2 separate regions of the Homo sapiens genome follow, and region 2 is linked to region 1. Evidence: promoter capture Hi-C in 16 types of primary human blood cells and fetal thymus (Javierre and others, 2016). All regions are on one chromosome and are shown on one strand. Each heading gives the region's core, a stretch centred on a gene start or on the middle of the fragment in contact. The rest is flanking DNA. Distances are from core to core; before and after follow the strand shown. Region 1 has its middle 19 kb from the start of KRT18. Region 2 holds the start of KRT6B (keratin 6B).

The links. Contacts are between HindIII fragments. The CHiCAGO score rates a contact against its expected background, and 5 or more counts as called.
Region 2: the fragment with the promoter of KRT6B here is called in contact with a fragment that was not itself captured in region 1 in 2 of 17 cell types (M2 macrophages and M0 macrophages); the score reaches 5.8 in M2 macrophages.

What each region holds. Positions count from the first base shown.
Region 1 is chr12:52,966,283-52,970,335 of GRCh38, forward strand. No RefSeq gene overlaps it. Among named protein-coding and RNA genes, the nearest start is that of KRT18, 19 kb to the left of the region's middle. The HindIII fragment of the contact is 7,174 bases long and covers 1-4,053 here.
Region 2 is chr12:52,450,798-52,454,922 of GRCh38, forward strand. It overlaps KRT6B (keratin 6B), which reads right to left and starts at 1,349. Exons shown (of 9, transcript NM_005555.4): 1 at 742-1,349. The coding sequence starts at 1,281. The HindIII fragment of the contact is 8,192 bases long and covers 1-2,332 here.

The sequences.
Region 1 (4,053 bases), core at 1,030-3,529:
ATTAATTAAATTAAATTTAAAAATTTAAAAAAATTAGCCTGCCTTGGTGGTGCGCACCTGTTATCCCAGCAACTCGGGAGGCTGAGGCAGGAGGACTGCTTGAGACCAGGGGTTGAAAAACAGGCTGGGCAACAAAGTAAGACTCCATCTCTACAAAAAATTTTAAAATTCACCTGGCGTGGTCGCGTGTGCCTTTGGTCCCAGCTACACAAGGGGCCCAGACGGGAGGATTGCCTGAGCCCCAGAGGTTGAGGCTGCAGTGACCCATGTTTGCACCACTGCACTCCAGCCTGGGTGACAGAGTGAGATCTTGTCACAAAGATAAATAAATAAATAAGTAGAATGCAGAGCAATGAAACCCTCATATGTTGCTGGTGGGAATACAAAACGTGTACAACTACTTTGGAAAACAGTTGGGCCGTTTTTTCTAAGTTTAAAAATACACCTCCCAGCGCGGTGGCTCACGCCTGTAATCCCAACACTTTGGGAGGCTGAGGCGGGCGGATCACGAGGTCACGAGTTCAAGACCAGCCTGGCCAATATGGTGAAACCCTGTCTCTACTAAAAATACAAAAAAAAAAAAAAAATAGCCAGGCGTGGTGGCATGCGCCTGTATTCCCAGCTACTTGGGAGGTTGAGGCAGAAGAATTGCTTGAACCTGGGAGGCGGAGTTTGCAGTGAGCTGAAATCTTGCCATTGCACTCCAGCCTTGGGCAACAGAGCAAGACTCTGTCTCAAAAAAAATAGTAATAAAAATAAAAATATACTTACCAGCTCGGTGTGGTGGCTCACACCTCTGATCCCAGCACTTTGGGAGGCCGAGGTGGGTGGATCACCTGAGGTCAAGAGTTCGAGACCAGCCTGACCAACATAGAGAAACCCCGTCTCTACTAAAAATACAAAATTAGCCAGGCGTGGTGGTGCATGCCTGTAATCCTAGCTACTTGGGAGGCTGAGGCAAAAGAATCACCTGAACCCGGGAGGCGGAGGTTGCAGTGAGCCAAGTTTGTGCCATTGCACTCCAGCCTGGGTGACAAGAGTGAAACTCCATTCTCAAAAAAATAAATAAATAAAATAAAATAAATAAACAGATGGTTCAAGTTTGGCCTCTCCCAGTAGGAATCCTCTTTGTGGCCTTCCTAACATCTGGCCTCCGTTTGAAGAATTTATGACAGTATAGCCCCTGTTGGATAATAATTGTATAATTACTGGAACATTATTGTTCCTTCTACTGGGCTGAAATCTGCCTCCTACTAACCTTCTAAACTCAGCTCTGCCCACTAGAGTTACACAGAACTCCCTCTTCCATTAGATTTCAGCCATAAGTGATTATTCTTCCCCTAACCTGTATAAAAGCAGCCCCAGTCACGGTGTAAGGATTTAGCTGCACTGCTGGCCTCAACCTCACCTGCCTGAATGAGCTGGAAAATAATTATCTACACAGAAACAGCCCAAGGAATTAGAATGATAGTGATGCTCAGATCCGGGGAGGCTGTGTCCCCCTGAAGGCCCTGGTCAGATCCTGGTGAAGTGGATGGTGCTGCCACAGGAGGGATGTAGGGTAAACTTCTCAGAGACTCAGGGCACTCCAGTGATCTGGGCCCAAAGCACACAGTTCCTTTTCCTCTCCCCACAATCCACACTGGAGCAGCAGGCTCTAGTGGGCCCCTCCCAGGCTGGCAGAACTTTCCCTATCACCCACTCCCCAGAAGCAAAAAAAGTTTAAAAAGCACCAGCCTAAGGCTGGGTGCAGTGGCTCATGCCTGTAATCCCAGCACTTTGGAAGGCTGAGGCGGGCAGATCACAAGGACAGGAGTTCAAGACGTGCCTGACCAACATGGTAAAACCCCGTCTCTACTAAAAATACAAAAATTAGCCAGGCATGGTGGTGCATGCCTGTAATCCCAGCTACTCGGGAGGCTGAGGCAGGGGAATTGCTTGAACCCGAGAGGCAGAGGTTGCAGTGAGCCAAGATCATGCCATTGCACTCCAGCCTGGGCAATGGAGCAAGACTCCGTCTCAAAAAAAATAAATTATTGTACATTTAAAAATAACTAAAAGAGTATAATTGGATTGTTTGTAACATAAAGGATAAATGCTTGAAGTGATGGATGCCCTGATGAGATTATTATGCATTGTATGCCTGTATCAAAATATCTCGTGTACCCTAAAATAGATACACATACTGGGTACCCACAAAAATTAAAAACTTTTTTTTTTTTGAGACAGAGTTTCACTCTTGTTGCCCAGGCTGGAGTGCACTGGCTCAATCTCGGCTCACTGCAACCTCCGCCTCCCAGGTTCAAGTGATTCTCCTGCCTCAGTCTTCCGAGTAGTTGGGATTACAGGCGCCCACCACCACACCTGGCTAATTTTTTTTTTTTTTTTTTTTTTTTGGATTTGGAGTAGAGACGGGGTTTCGCCATGTTGGCCAGACTGGTCTCGAACTCCTAACCTCAGGTGATCCACCTGCCTCGGCCTCCCAAAGCGCTGGGATTACAGGCATGAGCCACCAGACTCAGCCAAAATTAAAAACTTTAAAAAATAAATTAATAACCACAGCAGTAGCTAGTAGCTAATGGCTACCAGATTGGACAGGACAGTGCAGCACCAGACTGTAAGCTCCCTTTGAGCAGAGACTGGACTATCTTGTTCACTCTTATGCCCTGATACATAACACAATTCCAACACATAAACAGCAGGTTGTTATTTTCTTTTTTAAAGACAAAAATTTGAAATTGTAATTTTTATTAAATTGTAAATAAAATGTTATTTTATTTTATTTAATAACCTATAGCATTTGCCAATATCCAAGGTATAAATACTGCTGTCATGGTTGATTTAAAATGGTTTAATTCTGGGAAGCAAAATTTTCAAATTTAACAATCTTCTCTTACTAGCTTTTGAATGAATAAGCAAATGAATGAACAAATAAATGAGCAAATAACAAACCAAGAGGAGTCTCTGCATGCCTCACCCAAGGAAAAGAGGACAAAGGAGAGTAGAAGAATATTTCAAGATGCCAGCAGTCCTCTCACTCTCTTTGCAGGTCCTCTTTGTTCCAGGAAAGAGAACTTAGTGGGAGAACAATTGAACTTCCTCAGCTTCGCTTCACACACACCCCAGCTTTAAGAAAGCCCAGGAAGAATTTGTTTTTTTTTTTTTTTTTGAGACGGAGTCTTACTCTGTCACCCAGGCTGGAGTGTAGTGGCGTGGTCTCGGCTTCTCAGCTCACTGCAACCTCCACCTCCCAGATTCAAGCGATTCTCCCGCCTCAGCCTCTCCAGTAGCTGGGATTACAGGTGTGCACCACCACGCCCAGCTAATTTTCGTATTTTTAGTAGAGACAAGGATTTCACCACGTTGGCCAAGCTGGTCTCAAACGCCTGACCTCAAATGATCCACCTACCTCGGCCTCCCAAAGTTCTGGGATTACAGACATGAGCCACCTCACCTAGCCTTTGGATTACAGACATGAGCCACCTCGCCTAGCCTTTTTTTCTTTTTAAGGAAAAAAAGAAAAATAAAATCTCATCTTAATCTGCTCCATTTTTTTTTCTTTTTAAAGAAACTTTCCCAAGTCACTTAAACAGTCTTCGTAATGGGAAGGCACTCAAACTATAAATCTCCCTGTCATTTAGGAATGCTCAGTGCAAATGTTTATAGAACCCGGGCACCACTTTCAACCTCTCCTTTGAAGAAGGGCTTTGTAATCCTCCTCTGGGGTCACTCCTACATTCCAAAAATGTTCAGGAAAGGAAGGGAAGGTGCCCACCAGTGGGACAGCTTAGACCCAGGTCCCCACCCTCAGGTTCGGCCCTAAGAACATAAAGATACAAGAAAGGTCACGAGGTTAATTCAAAGCCAAGGAATGTCATGGCAGTAAATGCTGCAGGTGTTCACGGGGAGGATGATGGCCATGATTTGTGGCAGAAGTGAAACCTGAGAGATGCTAAGACTTGTGCAGTGGGAAAGGTGAGAAAATAATGAGAACAAAGTCCCCAAGGCTTGGCTGCATGCCTGGCAGCTAGTAGGTACTGCATAAATACAAGT
Region 2 (4,125 bases), core at 99-2,598, 520 kb before region 1:
CACTAGAGAAATTGTCCCACGGACCACTGAGGTGTTCTCGCACTGTAAGCTATTGATCATCAGTGAGTTTCAACATTTCTTCTTTTCTTTTTCCAAGCACAATCACAAATCTAGTTTAAAAATACTAATTACCTGATATATTGTACACAGTTTTTTTTACCGAGAGGATCTTAGTTAGGAGGGATATTAGATGTTGACTCATGATTACATTTCAGTCTACTTTCCCATTTAGTGTCTCCTCTCAAATATTCTGATGTTATGGTCATTCTCTGTTTTTAAAATTAATTAGCATTTATCCATGTTTTACAGTTGTTTCTATGTCCCTTTTTTTCTTAATCCAGCCAGATTATCTTTTCCTTTTCTTTCTAAATCTTTTTCCTCTTACCCAGACCCCAGAGTGTAATTTACCAGCCCATATACTCCTGGCATTTGCTTTGTAATCTCTTAAACACTTCAGAGGGGAGAATTAACCTACTCCACTCTCTGATGGCCTCATCTGTGCTTCAGGGTTATGAAAAGTTATGGCTCTCCCTAGGCAGGAGTGAGGGCCACTCCAGATATCCCATGGGGGAGTGATGCCCATCTGTGCTGCCTCCTGTGCACCGAGAGCCACCTGCACTCTCTGCAGAGCTGGGCTGAGTCCCCTTCTCCCTCCCTCCTAGGGTCTCTCCGGCAGGAAGGTGTTGCTCTTCTGGTCTGGGGACCCTGAAGTGCCCGATGGAGGGCATGGCACTGGCTCACCTTGTCGATGAAGGAGGCAAACTTGTTGTTGAGGGTCTTGATCTGCTCACGCTCCTCGGCCCGCACCCGCTGGATGGCGGGGTCAATTTGCAGGTTGAGGGGAGTCAGGAGACTCTGGTTGACAGTGACCTCTTGGATGCCTCCAGGGGGGCACACAGGGAAGCCAGGGCCCCCAAAGCCACCAGCAAGGCCGGCTCCACCACCCAGACCAAAGCCAATGCCGGCTCCACCACCGAAACCAAATCCACTCCCGGCGCCACCAAAGCCATAGCTGCCTCCGGCTCTGCTGCCATAGCCGCCACTGATGGCACAGCTGCCCCCTCCAATGGAGATCCTCTTGGAGCCCCCCAGGCCATACAGACTGCGGCTGCCAAAGCCAGCTCCTCCACATGCGCCACCCAGGCCACCACTGCCCCTGGAGCGGGACACGGAGATGCTGCTGAAGCCAGAGCGGCTGACCCCAGGGAGCCTGGCTGAGTTGGCACTGAAACCCCGGCGGCTGCTGCTGTGGCTCCTGATGGTGGTGGATGTGCTGGCCATGGTTCCAGGAGATGAGAGGGCTTAGGAGAGTGTGAGAGGCTGGAGGCGAGAGGGAGGAGAAGCAGGACGAGGAATCGGACTCCAGTAGCAGCTTATATATGGAGAGCATGGGCTGGGCCCAGTCCTGGAAGGTGAGCTTGCAGGTTGGGAAGGGCTGGGCTTTACAAATAGTGAGATCACACCTGCATTATTACAAAAGTTATGAAATACCGAGATTGCATTTTTCGCTTCCTTTAGTCAGGCAAAATGTTCCTGCCTCCAGCTTTGACTTGAGATCTCAGCACAATAAGAGTATTCTCAATTCATGAAGTTGGAATTAGTCACTGTCTTCAGCAAAGGTTCTGCATGCTAGGCTGTTTATCGACATGCCCTGAGTGCCCTCCTCTTCCCAGTCTGACTTTCTTCCAGCCTTGCTGTTGGAGATCACAGGCACTGTATTGTGAATTCCTTAACAGAAATATTACAATTTCCCCATAATTGTTTCACCTTTTAGGTGCAATTTTAAACAGGTAGAGAAGCAGAACACTGCAATGGGCCTGTATATACCTGTCACCTGCTTCCATGATGATCATCTCATGGCCAGCCTGATTTCTTTCATACTTCAACCCTATTTCCTCTTCCATTCTAGATTGTTTGAAAGGAAATTCCAGAAGTCATATTATGTCTTCAATCAATAATTCAATATTAATATCTAAATAATAGGTCCTTTAAAAAATCAAAACACTATTTTTATATCTTAAAAATTTACATACTAATTAAAATGAACAAGTGTCTATTTAGTCTTCAAGCAGTCCTATTTTTGATATATATTTCTTATATTTTGGTGTCCCAATCAGAGTCAAAATAAGCTCTATAAACGTTGTATTTGAGTGATATATCCTTTAAATCATTGAAATTTAAAAATCTCCCTTCATTTCTTACTTTTATTTGTTAAATAAAACAGGTTAACTGTTCATTGTACTTTTTCATTCTTGGGATTTTTCTAATTGCATACCCCTATTGTTTCCTTTAATATGAGACTCTAACCTTCATATTTCATATTAAAATTAGAAGCTTATTAAGATTCTGTCTATATTTAAACATTCTAGAAGTAAATGTAGTAGATTGCCCATTTAAATTTTGAATAGTACTATTTGCACAATTATTTACATGTTTACAAATTGAATACATGATACATGTTTTAAAAAATTTTTTGTAAAACATGCTAAACAACAAAATAATATAGCTCAAGGCCATTCCCCAGTTACCCAATTCCTATCTATGGAGGAAGTAATGTTAGCAGTTCCTTGTGTATCCTTGTATCTTTACTTGGATATTTTCCTGTGCTTTTCCTGGGCCATGGGTGACATGTCTGTGCATATGTGTTTGTGTCAACGTGTGTTTGTATGGGTGAGGAAGAGGTGGAGGGAGTTGGCATATATAGAGAGGGAGCCTGCATTGTAGAAAGGTATATAAATAAATACATGAATGTTTTGTGTGTATGTGTTTGAGTGTGTTTTATGTATATAAAATATTTCATGTATTCATATGTACAAAACATAAAAATATTGTCTTTTTCAATTGTGATTGTGTTGTGTCTGCTTTGTCTCCCACATCTATGTTTTCTGATTCTCTTTTTAACAGTCTCTAGTCTCTTTTTCATAGCTGTTTGCTTTTCCCAGTTATTCGAGGACATTTCTCCCAAATGTCCATTACTGTCTGTTTACCAATGTCTTTCCTCCTTATGCCGCTTTCAATTTGGGCTTCATTTCTTTTTTCTTTTCTTTTTTTTTTTTACACAGAGTCTTGCTCTGTCACCCAGGCTGGAGTGCAATGGCATGATCTCGGCTCACTGCAACCTCCGCCTCCCAGGTTCAAGTGATTCTCATGCCTCAGCCTCCCAAGTAGCTGGGACTACAGGTACCTGCCACCATGCCCGGCTAATTTTTGTATTTTTAGGAGAGATGGGGTTTTAGCATGTTGGCCGGGCTGATCTTGAACTCCTGACCTCGTGATCCACCCGCGTTGGCCTCCCAAAGTGCTGGGATTACAGGCGTGAGCCACCGCACCTGGCCAATTTGACCTTCATTTCTAAGCAGGACTTTGTTGTTATCTCTACCCCTTTTCTGTGCTCCACAAATGAATATTTTATCTTTTACCTGTCTCACTATATTTTGTCTTCTTTTTCCCACTTTATAGTGTTTATTTTTTAGTATTTTATTGTGCCTTTTTCTGTTGAGAGTTTTTATGAGTCTTTTTTTTTTTTTTGCCTATTTTTTTCAATTTTGAATGCACAGACCTTTTCTGAGTCCTGGCATGGTTCCTTTCTGACTAGTGCTTATTTTTAATGAGATGAGCCCCCTCTGGACCTGCGGTTTGTAGAAAGTATTATGGGTGGATGAGCCAGGGCCATATCCAGGCTAACAGGAGTTCTGATTGTGACACAGGGCTGTGTGAATAGTTCTTTTATTCTTTCATTCAGCCAAACCAATAAAGATCACTGCAGAGTGGCTCACAATTTACAGCCTCTTTGTTTTCTTTGCCTCACAATAAAATGCTACTAGTTGACCTTGTCTCTCTTCTTATTCAAATTTGCCTTCATAGTTTCTTGAAACTTCATGACAAGCAGGGTCCTGGCTCGTGCTCACACACCCAGTTGTGATAGTTGCAAATAAGGGATTCTTGGATTTTCACAGGAGGACATGCCCTTTACATTGATTTAGTTGAGGAAAATGAGTCAACTGTGCCTGGCATGTAGTAAAACCTCACTGTTAGGCTGTGTTTGGTTTTCCTTTGTGGTTACTGTGTTGTTTGATTTTGATCTGTTTATTTGTGAGTGTTCTCCACTGGCTTTGTCTGAGATTG